Regions from separate parts of the Homo sapiens genome. Here all the other regions are linked to region 1. The links are contacts of gene promoters, found by promoter capture Hi-C in human tissues and cell types (Jung and others, 2019). All regions are on one chromosome and are shown on one strand. The core of a region is centred on a gene start or on the middle of the fragment in contact, and the rest is flanking DNA. Distances in the headings are between cores, read along the strand shown.

Region 1 (2,700 bases), core at 12-2,511:
CTCGGGAGTGGGTTAGCATTAAGTGGGGGCTGGCAGCAGGGTGCAGGGAAGGGATGTTTCTCAGAACTCCTTTCCTCTAAGTTCCCAGTCCCTTCTCTCCCCGGAAGGAGACCTGGAGGAAAAGGACAGTGCCCAGCGGGACAGCACATGTGCAGAACCCGGCCGCGCCTCCCGCAGACACCAGGCATCTTTCTCCAGCCCAGGCTCAGCCATGTCTTTCTTCTGACAGAAAACGTGCGGAGTTTGCTCAACATCAGTCAATGCTCCAACCCCAACGCGGTGTCCAGCAACTCACTAACGACACCACCCAGAGTCAGCGAAGACCCCACAAGCTCAGCGCTCTTCCCGCAGCTGCCCCCCCCCTGCAGACGGCAGTCCCTGCCTCTGGACACCCGTCTTCATTTCTGAACGCCTGCCTACAAACCAGGGGCGCCCACACCCTCCTCAAGTTCAATAATGTGGCAGAACTACTCACAGAACTCAGCGAAGCGCTGTGCGCGCCCACACCAGCGTATTCTAAAAGATGCCACTCAGGAACAGCCACGCGGAGGAGGCGCACAGGGCAAGGGGACTGGTGGGCAAGTTGGAGCGGGCGGGTGATTTGCTTCGCTTCCTCACACACCTCACAAAAGCTTTTCCTTCAAGACCCGCTGGCAGCCCCCAAACCACAAGCCATGCCCGGGGCTGTCCCATTAATTAGTCCCCATTTGCTCACATGAACTCTATGTTTTGATAGGGCCTCGATCTTATTCCGAACAGGGTAAAGTAGGGACTCGACGACCGGACCACAGCTCCTCCCAGGCGGGCACCTCGCACGCCACGCAGGCGTTTTCCCGATGAGCTCCTCCTCACCCCACAGCCCAGGGAAGGTGCGGGGCTGCGGGCGCAGAGCTGCACAAGTAGGGCTGCAGGCTGGGCCAAAGCCGCCTTGCGGGGACCGACATGAACCCGGGTCCCTCACCGGAAGGGACCAAGGACTGAGGGCTGAGCGGCGGCAGCGGAGACTCCGTTCGCAGACTCCGTCCCGCCGCCGCCATTTCCCGCCGGTTCGGATGAGGCCTCCCCAGCCTTGGGACGCCCTGCCCCCACACTCACCATTTCCCCACTTCAGGGGTGTAGCGGAGTCTCAGCTACGAATCATCCAATACCCGCAGGTCACAGAGCGACGGAGGCTGAGGCTGTGACCGAATCACCGACGCCTCCCTGAGGGGTGAAAGCACGGCCGTGGAGACCCTAACCGAGCTCACGCTGGCGCAAAAGGCAAAAGCCGCGCCAGATCCCGGATGCCGCCCCCTCCTCTCCGGCTGCGCGCCTGATTGGGCAGTTCTCAATCCAGCGCTCTGATTGGATAAGATACCAAGCTCCCCACGCTCAGAATTTGAGTGACAGAACTTGCCACCACACAGTGCACTTAATGAGGCAAGAGAGACAGACTCGTGCCTCCAGGTATTTTCAGTCAGGGCTTTCTGTGCTAGGCTTGGCTCTGTTGGGGGTTCATTTTTAACCTTCTGGTGTGTAAGGTTACGCCCATTTATAAATTGTGTACGTACGCGCGCGCACACACACAGACACACACTTGTTCACAAATGGAAACAATATAATGACAATTATTTTAATATTTTAGATTTCATAACCTCTCTGTCCTCTGGTCTTTTGAGTAGGATTTTAAGGGGGAAGCAATCCTTTAAAAAATAAAATGTTAGCTATTTGTGAATTTTCAATTTTTTATTAGCCACATCAAAAATAATAAAAAGAAACAAGTGAAATTGTTTATATTTTAACCTATTGTATCCAAAATATTGTTTCAATATGTGATCAATATATAATTAGAAATAAAGTATATTTCTGATTTAATTCGTCTAAACTCACTGTGTATTTTATGTTTGCAGCACATTTTACCTCAAACCAGCCACATTCCAGGTACTCAGTAGCTACATATGTCTGGTGGCTGCCACATCGAGTACAGCCATGAGGGCTCTGACCTCAAGAAAGTGAGGGCCTGAACACGTCTTTTCTACTGGAAGTAAGGGACCAGCCTCTCTACCAACTTTTCTCCTCAGGATGAAGGATGGGTAGGACAGTGCCCCTAGAGAGAGCAGGGGCTGCAAGCTGAGAGTGTCCACGTGAAGATCACTGTCTCCCCCTTGCTGTTTGGTACCAGTGTGGTGGTCTCCTCAGTTCAACCACGTCTGGGCTCTCTTCCCATGACCAGGAAGAATAAGACATACAGACACCAGAGAGTGAGTAAAGCAGAATAGGATTTATTAAGCATAGGGAAAGCTCTCAGCAGTAAGAGGGGACATGAAAGCAGGGTGCCAGAAATGGGGCTGAGTTTATATGGCAAGAACAAGGAAGTCTTCTGTGGGCTCTGCCCAAATGGGAGGGGTAAAGTTCCCCTATAACAGTGTTGCATCTGAGCATGCCTGGGATTGACCACAGTGACTCCGTCTTGGTTATTACCCATGAGTGCCCAAGCGAAACCCACAGCAGGTGGAAAGGGTGAAGCTAAAACCAAAATACTTATGTCATGTTAGGTAACATTATAAGGAGCTGGGTCAAGTTAATGACATTTAGGTTGATTTATTACACCTGGGCCTAAGTGGGGACAGTCCCTTCTGATCAACATCCTGGCATAAGAGGAAGTTCTTAACCACATTTCTTCCCACTAGCTACAAGGGTGGTGCATGTGCGGTCCCATGG
Region 2 (2,700 bases), core at 51-2,550, 85 kb before region 1:
AAGAAAAGAGCCCTTTAATGGGAAGACACATGAGACAGTAGCCAAAGCCCCAGGTAGGTGAGAGTGAATGAAGGAGAGGACACAGGCAAGGGGACCAAAGGTGATGAAGGAAGTCAGGCCTTAAAATGTACTTTGGAAAGCACTTCTTCAATGCAAATAATTTCTGAAAAGGCTGCATTTTTTCTCATGTTCACAAATAGGGGCATCTTCAGCCCCATGCTGTTAAATCTTCTAAAAATTCTCTTTTTTCTTTTTTTTGAGATGGAGTCTTGCTCTGTCACCCAGACTGGAGTACAGTGGTGTGATCTCAGCTCACTGCAGCCTGTGCCTCCCAGGTTCCAGCAATTCTCCTGCCTCAGCCTCCTGGGTGACTGGGATTACAGGCATCTGCCAATACACCTAGCTAATTTTTGTATTTTTAGTAGAGACAGGGTTTTGCCATGTTGGCCAGGCTGGTCTCAAACTCCTGACTTTAGGTGATCCACCTGCCTCGGCCTCCCAAAATGCAGGGATTACAGGCATGAGCCACTACACCCAGCCCTCTTTTTTCTTTAGAGATCTCCCTTCAAGTTTACAGGGATAGCCAATGTCTACTTTATCACTTATAAGGGGCTGCATGATCTCACTGCTGTTCCATTGCTTTTGGAAATATAGGAATAATTGTGTTATTGAGGAGCTCTATGTTAACGTATTTTTTTCAAATATTGATTTTGTATCATGCCTAAATATGTAAGGCAAGTAGTGGACATATTGGAATTTGGTTCAGAAATCCCAGGAACACTAGGGACAGATGTTGCACCTTTTCTGCTTAGTGATTTTTAATCCTGTTGCAAATGTAATTCTACAAAAATTCTTTCTTAGCAATTTTATAAGAATGATAAGCATTTTCCTAAATATGAAAAATGTATTGTTGATTGTACTTCAAAATGTTATTGATTTAGTATAAACTGAGATTTGTAATTTAAACTCTAGATGTGTAAATTTTCAAATTATAATATAGTTTAAAGCATGGTTTTCCAACCTTTTGGCTTCCCTGGGCCACATTGGAAGCAGAATTATCTTGGGCCACACATAAAATACACTAACACTAATGATAACTGATGAACTTTAAAAAAAATTTCATAAATAATTTTTATGATAGCTACTGCAACAGATAAGTGAAATGTTCTTACATTCATAGCATTGGGCACCACTTGATTAAAGTATCTACTCACCTTCAAGATTTCTTAAATGCACTGTCATTAACTAGCTTAGAACACTGCTAAGTGTATATTATTATTTCTTAATAACTATTATCTTATACTTTTAGTAAGAAGCCTACTGGGGGCCAGGCGCAGTCGCTCACGCCTGTAATCCCAGCACTTTGGGAGGCTGAAGTGGGTGGATCACCTGAGGTCAGGAGTTCAAGACCAGCCTGGCCAACATGGCAAAACCCCATCTCTACTAAAATTGCAAAAATTAGCTGGGCGTGGTGGCAGGCACCTGTAATCCCAGCTACTCGGGAGGCTGAGGTGGGAGAATCGCTGAACCCGGGAGGCCGAGGTTGCAGTGAGCCGAGATGGCGCCATTGCACTCCAGCCTGGGCAACAGAGTGAGACTCCGTCTCAAAAAAAAAAAAAAAAAAAAAAAAAGAAGCCTACTGGGGTTTCATCATTGAGATCTATTGATATCTATATAAAAATGTGGGTCTCACACATACACCCACCCATATAAGTTATATATGTGTATTGTAAATTCTCACTTAACATTGTTGATAGTTTCATGGAAACTGTAAGTGAAGCAATATATTGTTTAAGAAAACTAATTTTGGCTCAGCACGGTGGCTCACACCTGTAATCCCAGAACTTTGGGAGACCGAGGTGGGTGGATCATGAGGTTAGGAGTTTGAGACCAGCGTGGCCAACATGGTGAAACCCCATCTGTACTAAAGATACAAAAAATTAGCCGGGTGTGGTGGCATGCACCTGTAATCCCAGCTACTCAGGAGGCTGAGGCAGGAGAATCGCTTAAACCCAGAGGCAGAATTACTATAGTTGAATTGATAGAAACAAGGTTATGTTTGAATGTCATATACCGACATTGTTTTATTTAAAGACGCAGTTTTCAAGAACCTATTTTGAACATTGAGTACTTACTGTACATCTGTGTTTGTGTGACATGGATTTTTCTGATAAATAAAAATGGTATAACTATATATTTAATGTATACAATGTAATGATTTGATACGCATGTACACTGTGAAACAAAATACAGTCAAGTTGATGAGCACATCTAGTACCTCAATTTTTTTTGGAGTAAGAACACTTAAGATCTACTGTAGTAGCAAATTGTAAGCATACATTACAGTATTACTAACTATAAACACAATGCTATTTGGCTAATCTAATGCTAATTTACATTAGATTTCTCAGACTTACTCAACTTATAACTAAAAATTTGTACTCTTTGAACATCTCCTCATATTTCTACCCTCAGGCACTAGCAACCACCATTTTATACTCTGCTTCTATGAGTGTACTTTTTTAGATTTCTCATCTAACTTAAAACAAGGAGTTTCTTTGTCTTTCTGTGTTTGGCTTATTTCATTTAGCATAACGTCCTCCAGGTCTATCCATGTTGTAAATGGCTACATTTCCTTCTCTTCTGGCGGAATAGTATTCTACTGTCTGTATATAGACACACACATACTATATTTTGGCT
Region 3 (2,798 bases), core at 210-2,709, 68 kb before region 1:
CTTTTATAATAGACCCACTCTCATGATGACTAATACACTGTGGTAATACTGATACTAATCCTTTCATGACAGTAGAGTGCTCATGACCTAATAACTCTTAAGGGCCTCATTTCTTAATTTTCTCACAATGTCAGTTAAATTTTAACATGAATTTTGGAGGGGACGCTCAAACTATAGCAATGTGTTTTTATTGGATAACTAAATCTTTATATATTTAAATGAATTACTGATTGATAAGAACTTACTGCCATTTTCTTACTGTTTTCTGACCATTTAGTAGTTTGTTTTTTCATTGTTTCATGCTGTCTTCCCCTGTATTTTCTTGAATTTTTGTTGTTTTTGTTGTTATATGCATTCTTTTTCTTTTGTGTGTAACCACTACAGTTTTTTTTGTAATTTCCAGGAAGCTTATGTAAAACATCTCATAGTTATAAAATCTAATTTCAGATAAGAATTTAGCTTTTGGTTTGTATAGATAGGGTCTTGCTTTGTTACCCAGTGTAGTGCAGTGGTACATTCATAGCTCAGTGCAGACTTGACCTCCCCAGGCTCAAGCAATCCTCAGCCTCCCAAGTAGCTGGGACTACAAGCACATGCCACCATGTCTGGCTAATTTTTTTAGTATTTTTTGTAGAGACAGGGTTTTGCCAAGTTGCTCAGGCTGGTGTTGAACTCCCGGGCTCAAGCAGTCCACCTGCCTTGGACTCCCAAAGTGCTAGTATTACAGGCATGAGCCATCAGGCCCAGCTGCTTCTTTTTTTAAAAGACTAAATAGCTTTCTGAGATCTTTATTTAATTTTATTTATGTACTTATTTAAGAGACAGGGTCCTGCTATATTGACCAGACTAGTTTTGAACTCCTGGCCTCAAGCAAAAGTTAGCTTCTATGTATAGAAAAATTAAACAATTTTACTCCCTTCAACATAGTATTTATGTCACACTCTACATCTTTTTATATCGTATACCCTTTAACAAATTATTGAAGCTATATGTAGTCTTAATAATTTTTTCTTGTAGCTTTTATACCAGAGTTAAATGTGATTAATTCATTCACCATAATTAGTTTTATAGCCTTCTAAATTCGACTATGTATATATGATTTTCAGTAAGATTTATAATTTTGTTGTAAGTTTGGATTCCATTACAACTTAAATTCTCATTAGCATTTGTTGTAAGTCAGGTCTAGTGATTAAAACTTTCAACTTTTTTTTAATCTGAGAAGATTTTGATACTTCATTTCTAAAGAACAGCTCTGTCAGGTATCGTCTTCTTAGTTGTCAAGGTTTTTTCTTTTTCTTCCTTCATTTGCATTTTAAATATATGGTTTCACTCCTGTGTGGCTTGCATGGTTTTTGCTGGGCAATCTGCTGATAACCTTATAGGAGTTCCCTTGAATGTGAAGAATCTCTTTTCTCTTGCTTTTTTTTTTTTTTTTTTACTTTTTACTCTTTATTTTAGGTTTTGCAGGCAAACCCCAGGTAAAGGGTTTTCTTTTTTTAATTTTAATTTTTGTGAGTATGTAGGACATGTATATATTTGTGTGGCACATGAGATGTCTTGATCCAGGCATGTAATGTGTAACAATCACATAATCAAAAATGGGGTATATCCATCCCCTCAAGCATTTATAATTTGGGTTATAAACAATCCAATTATGCTCTTTTAGTTATTTTAAAATGTGCAACTAAATTATTATACTCATACTGGGTATTACTCATTCTTTCTTTTTTTTTTCTTTTTTGTTTGTCTTTGAATTTTGGCAGTTTAATTATAATGTGTTCTGGACAATTTCTGTTAGATTCTTCTTGCTATAGACATTTTGAGCTTTTAAATTTAATATCTATATTCCTTCCAAGATTGGGAAGAATTTAAGACATTATATCTTTAAACAATTTAAAAATTTTTTTCTTTCTCATGAACCTCCTAAAATTGTACATCCTTACCATTGATTATGAAATATGGGGGACAAATGCTTTATTCACTCGCATTCTTTTTTTAAATTCTAACTAGGAACTTTCAAATAACTTTTACATTTGCTGATTTTTTTTTTCCTGTATAACGGAGTCTCCTGTTAAAGCTTTCTCTTAAATATTTTAGATCTCCTATTGTGTACTTCAGCTCCAGCATATCTAACTGGTTCTGTTTTAATGGTTTCTCTTTATTATAATTGTGATTCTGTTCATACGTTGTTGCAAAAAAAATTTAGTAATGTGTGGTTTTTTTGCATCTCATTGAGATTCTTTAAGATAATTATTTTGAATTCTTAGCCATTTTTTAGATCTGTGTTTTACTGTAAGTGGTTACTAGAGAATTTTTAGTTTCTTTTGGTGGTGTTACATTTGCCTGATCTTTCATGGTCTGTGATGCCTTGTTTTTATGTCCTTGCATCTGAAGGAGTAAATATCTCTTGCAGTCATTATAGATTAGTTTGGGGTGGTAAATATTTTCTCCTATTGGATCTCTGTGCTGATGAGATTTCCAGTGAGTTTGCAGTAAGGTGCATTGGATCTGGATCACAGTGAAGTTCATGCTTGGCAGACCTGTTATTAGGGCATCAGACTGTTGTGGATTCTGTCTATTTTCTAGGAAGACTGAACTTTCTTCAGGATCTTGATCAGTAAGACTGGTGCTGAGAAAAAAAAGTCTCCAGTTGTATATGCAGATGACAGAGCTGATATAATCCATGTGAGCAGGTATGGCTTCTGCTGTGTGGCTCTTGCTGGGTTTTTAGAAATCTTCTAACCCAGTCATTGGACAGATTCCTAGATGAGAAGTACTGACCCTTGGTCACAGCTGAG
Region 4 (2,746 bases), core at 148-2,647, 120 kb before region 1:
TTGCTTGTCTGAAAAAATTTTATTTCTCCTTCACTTATGAAGCTTAACTTAGCCAGATATGAAATTCTGGGTTGGAATTTCTTTTCTTTAAGAATGTTGAATATTGGCCCCCAATCTCTTCTGGCTTGTAGGGTTTCCACTGAGAGGTCTGCTGTTAGTCTGATGGGCTTCTGTTTGTAGGTGGCCTGACCATTCTCTCTGGCTGCCTTAACATTTTTTCTTTCATTTTGACCTTGGAGAATCTGGTGATTATATGACTTGGGAATGGTCTTTTCATGGAGTATCTTACTGGGGTTCTCTGCATTTCCTGAATTTGAATGTTGGCCTGTCTAGCTAGGTTGAGGAAGTTCTCCTGGATGATATCCTGAAATATGTTCATACGTCTCAGAGGTTTTGTTCATTCCTTTTCATTTTTTTCTCTATTCATGTCTGCCTGTCTTATTTCAGAAAGGACAGTCTTCAAGCTCTGTGATGTTTTTCCTCCACTTGGTCTATTGTGCTATTAATACTTGTGATTACATTGTGAAGGTCTTGTAGTGTGTTTTTTCAACTTTATCAGGTCATTTATGTTTCTATGTATACTGGCTATTTTGGCTGTCAGCTCCTGCATTGTTTTAACTTGATTCTTAGCTCACTGGGTTACAATGTGCCCCTTTAGCTCAGCAAAGCTCATTTGTATTCACATCCTGAAGCCTACTTCTATCATTTCAGCCATTTCAGCCTCAGCCCAGTTCTGAACTCTTGTTGGAGAGGTGTTGCAGTCATTTGGAGAACATGGTGCACCCTTACTTTTTGAGTTTTCATCATGTTTGTGCCACTTCTTATCTTTGTGGGCTTATCTATTTTCAATCTTTCAGGTTGCTGACCTTTGGATGGGGTTATTGTGGGGGTTTTTTGTTGTCGTTTGTCTGTTTGTTTTTCTTTTAATCATCTGGTTGCTCTTTTGTAGGGCTACTGTGGTTTGCTGGGGGTCCACTCCAGGCTTGGTTTTTTTGTTTTTTTGTTTTTTGGGGTTTTTTTTGTTTTTGTTTTTGTTTTTTGTTGAGACGGAGTCTCGCTCTGTAGCCCAAGCTGGAGTGCAGTGGTGTGATCTCGGCTCACTGCAACCTCCACCTCCAGGGTTCAAACGATTCTTCTGCCTCAGCCTCCCGAGTAGCTGGGACTACAGGTGTGCACCACCACGCCCAGCTAATTTTTGTATTTTTAGTAGAGACAGGGTTTCACCATATTGGCCAGACTGGTCTCGAACTCCTGACCTCAAGATCCACCCACCTTAGCCTCTCAAAGCACTGGGATCACAGGCATGAGCCATGTGAGCCACTGTGCCTGGCAGTCACCTTGGTTTTTTAAGTACCTGGAAGTATCACCAGTTAAGGTTGCAATACAGCAAGGATGGCAGCATGCACATTCCTCTGGGGTCTCCATCCCAGGGGGTACTGACCTGTTGACTGCCTGAACACAACTGTAGGAGGTGGCTGGAGACCATGGTTTGGAGGTCTCACCCAATCAGGGGAAAGGGGATGAGCAACCAATTAAAGGAGGAGTCTGGCTGTGTTTTGGTAGAGCAACTGTACTGTGTTGGGGGGATTTGTTCAGCCCCCAATTGGCTTGGGCTCTCCAAGGCCCACAGGCTGCACTGGCTGAGATGCCCAAACAGCAAAGATGGTGACCCACTCTGCCTCCTGGGCACCCCCATCCCAGGGAGAAATTAGAACTCTGTTGGCCTTAGAACATGGGCATGGGTGGCAGGAAGCCCTGGCTGGGAGTACCTGCCCAGCAAGGAAAAATGGATTGGGGTCCCATTTAAAGAAACAGTTATGCCATGCCTCGACAAAACAGCCATTCCATGCTGGGGAACCACCTTTGTCCCAGTCAGCTTGGACTCATAAGCTGGAATGGCTGAGTCACACAAACAGCTAAGGTAGCAGCCCATCTTCCCCTTTCTGAGCACTCTATCTTAGGGAGAAATCAGAACTCTGTTCATAGAATATGGGTGGGGCTGGCTGGAGGCCCCTGCTGGGAAGACTCATCCAGCGAGGATAATGGATTGGGTTTTTATTTGAAGAAGCAGCCTGGCCATATCTTGGTAAAACAGCTGTGCTGTGCTGTGCTGTGGGGTCCCTTCCTCATTCGGATTGTTTGGATTCTCCAAAGCCAACGTCCAAGCAGCAAAGATAGTGGCCTGGCCCTCCCCCAGGGGCTCTGACCCATCTCAGTCAGGTGCTAGGCTGTTGCTGGTGGCTGGAATTCCAAGCCAGTGGGTCTTATCATATGAGGTGCAGTGGAAGTGGGGCCCACAGACTGTTGCTGCTCATCCCCCTGGATTCAGCCTCTTCCTGGAGGCATGCACTGACCTCCCACCTTGTCTGAGTTGCAGTCACCTTTGTTGGAAATCCCAGGACTGAAGTGTGTAAAGCTCCTGGGTCTCTGTGTGTGTCTAAGCAGCTGCTCTACTGAGACTCCACACAACTCTGTGTGTCAGGCCCAAGGCCCTGGTCAAGTGGGCTCACAAGGGGCTCTCCTAATACAAGGGTTGCAAAGATTTGTGGGAGAAGTGTGGTTTCCTAGGGTTGCAAATTCACTCACCCCTATTCTTGGCTGGGGCTGGGCGTTTTGTTGGCTCTGTGTCACTCCCAGATAGGTCCTCAAAATCTATCCTTATAGTAGTACCCTATTGTTTGGTTATGATAACATTTTAGTAAGAACTGATATCAGAAGTAAATTTTGTTTTTATTTTCAAAGTCTC
Region 5 (2,700 bases), core at 72-2,571, 100 kb after region 1:
AGAAATGCGTTGCTGTCTGGCTACCTCCTCCCTATTATTGTACACCTCGAAGGCGAGGTTGATTAATTCCCGTTGTGGGGTTTGAGGGTCAGATTCCAATTTTTGAAGCTTTTTCTCATGTCAGGAGCTGACTGGGTGATAAAATGCATATTAAGAATAAGGCGGGCCGGGCGCGGTGGCTCACGCCTGTAATCCCAGCACTTTGGGAGGCCGAGGCGGGTGGATCATGAGGTCAGGAGATCGAGACCATCCTGGCTAACAAGGTGAAACCCCATCTCTACTAAAAATACAAAAAATTAGCCGGGCGTGGTGGCGGGCGCCTGTAGTCCCAGCTACTCGGGAGGCTGAGGCAGGAGAATGACGTGAACCCGGGAAGCGGAGCTTGCAGTGAGCCGAGATTGCGCCACTGCAGTCCGCAGTCCGGCCTGGGCGACAGAGCGAGACTCCGTCTCAAAAAAAAAAAAAAAAAAAAAAAAAAAAAAAAGAATAAGGCGGCCTTCTGGCCCCTCTGGGTCTAGGACGTAAAGCATCTCAGGGTTGCTGCCAAGCGGGCCAGGAACCGGGCTGGGTTTTTATATTTGACGAAAAAGAGCCTAAACGCTAACTGATCTGGGAGAGGTCAGATAAAGAAAAAAGAAGCATTAACTTTGACTGTGCCTTTAGCTCCAGCCACCTCTTTAAGAGGAAATTGTTGGGCAGGTGGGGGAGGGCTAGTTGCAGAACGAAACTGTAAGCCAGACTGGGTGTGAGGAGGGGAGGTGATAGAAAGATTATAGGGTGGGGGAGCAGAGGCTGAGGAAGAACTGGGACCTGGCTCAGCCTGGCGAGGAGCAGCCTGGGGAGAAGGGGAGAGGTCAGATGAGTCTGTAGAAAACAAGGATTCAAAGGATTCAGATCTTGGGTTGGAGACTGAAAGAACAGACAGGAGAGAAAGAAGAAAGATTTGGGATGAGTCGGATTGGGAACAGAGACTAGGGAGGGACCAATGTGTAAAGAATGCCTGGACGTCAGGCACCTCAGACCATTTGCCCATTTTTCAACAAAAATTATCTAGATCTTGTAGGATAGACAAATCGAAAGTGCCATTCTCTGGCCACTTGGAACTACTGTCGAGTTTGTATTGGGGCCAAGTGGTACTGCAGAAGAAAATAAGGCATTTAAGCTTTAGGTCAGATGTGAACTGAAGAGGTTTTAAGTTCTTGAGAACACAGACTAAGGGAGAAGAAGGGGGAATGGAGGGTGGAAGTTTGCCCATAATGAAGGAGGTAAGTTTAAAGAGAAAGGTAGAGACAAAGAGAAGAGGGTGGGTGAGCAGCCCTGGGCTGCAATGTGGGTGAGCAGCCAAGCAGGTGTCCCCGCAATTGACTTGCCACCAAGGGAATGTGGGTGAATGACCAAGGCAGGCATCCCTGCGGTTATCAGACACCAATGGAATGTGGGTGAATAATCAGGCAGGCATCCCCATAACGATTAAACATCAAGGGAAGACTGTCTTCCTGAGTCTGTGACCGGCGCCAGAGTTTTGGGTCCACAGATAAAATATGTCTCCTTTGTCTCTACTAGAGAGGAAAAAGAACTGGAATTGGAAGGACAGGGAGATTGAAGGGTAGCGAGAGAGGAAGATTGAAGTGTAGTGAGAGAGGCTAGAGAAGAGTGAAGACTGCTTACCTGATTTGAAATTGATGAGATGTTCCTTGGGCTGGTTGGTCTGAGGACCTGAGGTTATAGATGGATCTCCTCACAGAGTGAGGGCGAGAACAGGGGACTGGTCTCCCAAAGGAGTCCCTCTGACCTGGGTCCTTGGCACCAAATGTCAGGCGTGTCCATATGAAGAGAGTCCACCAACAGGCTTGTGTGAGCAACAAGGCTGTTTATTTCACCTGGGTGCAGATGGGCTGAGGCCAAAAAAGGAGTCAGCAAAGGGTGGTGGGATTATCATTAGTTCTTACAGGTTTGGGATAGGCATACAAAGTACCGTCTTAAGGGCGGGGTGGGGGAGAATATTACAAAGTACCTTCTTAAGGGTTGGGGGAGAATATATCAGTTAGGGTGGGGGCAGGAACAAATCACAATGATGGAATGTCATCAGTTAAGGCTATTTTCACTTCTTTTGTGGATCTTCAGTTGCTTCAGGCCATCTGGATGTATACATGCAGGTCACAGGGGATATGATGGCTTAGCTTGGGCTCAGAGGCCTGACAAAGATCTCCCATTTGTTTGGTCCACAGGCTGAGATTACCTCTGCGGTTGCAGAGAAGAAGGGTTGTAGTAGCTGGCTCACAAGGGTGCTGTGGGGTCTGCCTTTGATGATTGTGTTACCAGAGATTTCGACACTCATGGATTCTTTCTGGGCCATGGAAAGATTAAATATCCTTGAGGACATTAATCTATATGGCAGGCAGTAGGTTAGGGTTTAAAGTTTGTCTGCATATGATGGGTCAAATACAAGGTGTATGAATGGGTTTGGCTTCTGCTGACTACCTGGGAACAGTTTTCAAAGTCTCTATGTGGGTCCCTGAGTGTGTACAGCTGGCCATGGATTGTGGCTGTGAGGGTTAGAACTGAGTCACAGGGCTGCTTCAGGGAGCACAGCTGAGGCCAGGATACACAGGCCTGCCTCCAGGATTATGGCTGGCTGTTTCCCTGCAGATCTCTTGATGGGAAGGACCACTTGTGGACTGTAGCTGATAGGAGTTTGAG

Evidence for each region. The method cuts DNA at HindIII sites, captures the fragments that hold promoters and counts their contacts. A contact is called where the count stands out against the background at its distance.
Region 2: a fragment that was not itself captured here is called in contact with the fragment with the promoter of ZNF732 in region 1 in 5 of the 25 tissues and cell types used here (dorsolateral prefrontal cortex, heart right ventricle, mesenchymal stem cells and 2 more).
Region 3: a contact is called between a fragment that was not itself captured here and the fragment with the promoter of ZNF732 in region 1, in 5 of the 25 tissues and cell types used here (bladder, dorsolateral prefrontal cortex, lymphoblastoid cells and 2 more).
Region 4: a fragment that was not itself captured here is called in contact with the fragment with the promoter of ZNF732 in region 1 in 9 of the 25 tissues and cell types used here (adrenal gland, bladder, dorsolateral prefrontal cortex and 6 more).
Region 5: a fragment that was not itself captured here is called in contact with the fragment with the promoter of ZNF732 in region 1 in 2 of the 25 tissues and cell types used here (lymphoblastoid cells and spleen).

The regions. Positions count from the first base shown.
Region 1 is chr4:304,213-306,912 of GRCh38, forward strand. It overlaps ZNF732 (zinc finger protein 732), which reads right to left and starts at 1,262. Exons shown (of 4, transcript NM_001137608.3): 1 at 1,096-1,262. The coding sequence starts at 1,098. The HindIII fragment of the contact is 17,523 bases long and covers 1-2,700 here.
Region 2 is chr4:219,337-222,036 of GRCh38, forward strand. It overlaps LOC124900642 (zinc finger protein 141-like), which reads left to right. Exons shown (of 2, transcript XM_047416470.1): 2 at 1-307. The coding sequence ends at 61. It also overlaps the pseudogene ZNF876P. Among named protein-coding and RNA genes, the nearest start is that of ZNF732, 85 kb to the right of the region's middle. The HindIII fragment of the contact is 6,520 bases long and covers 1-2,700 here.
Region 3 is chr4:236,214-239,011 of GRCh38, forward strand. It overlaps the pseudogene ZNF876P. Among named protein-coding and RNA genes, the nearest start is that of ZNF732, 68 kb to the right of the region's middle. The HindIII fragment of the contact is 5,262 bases long and covers 1-2,798 here.
Region 4 is chr4:186,202-188,947 of GRCh38, forward strand. It overlaps a transcript of ZNF718 not described here. Among named protein-coding and RNA genes, the nearest start is that of ZNF718, 63 kb to the left of the region's middle. The HindIII fragment of the contact is 8,418 bases long and covers 1-2,746 here.
Region 5 is chr4:407,099-409,798 of GRCh38, forward strand. No RefSeq gene overlaps it. Among named protein-coding and RNA genes, the nearest start is that of MIR571, 58 kb to the left of the region's middle. The HindIII fragment of the contact is 3,046 bases long and covers 1-2,700 here.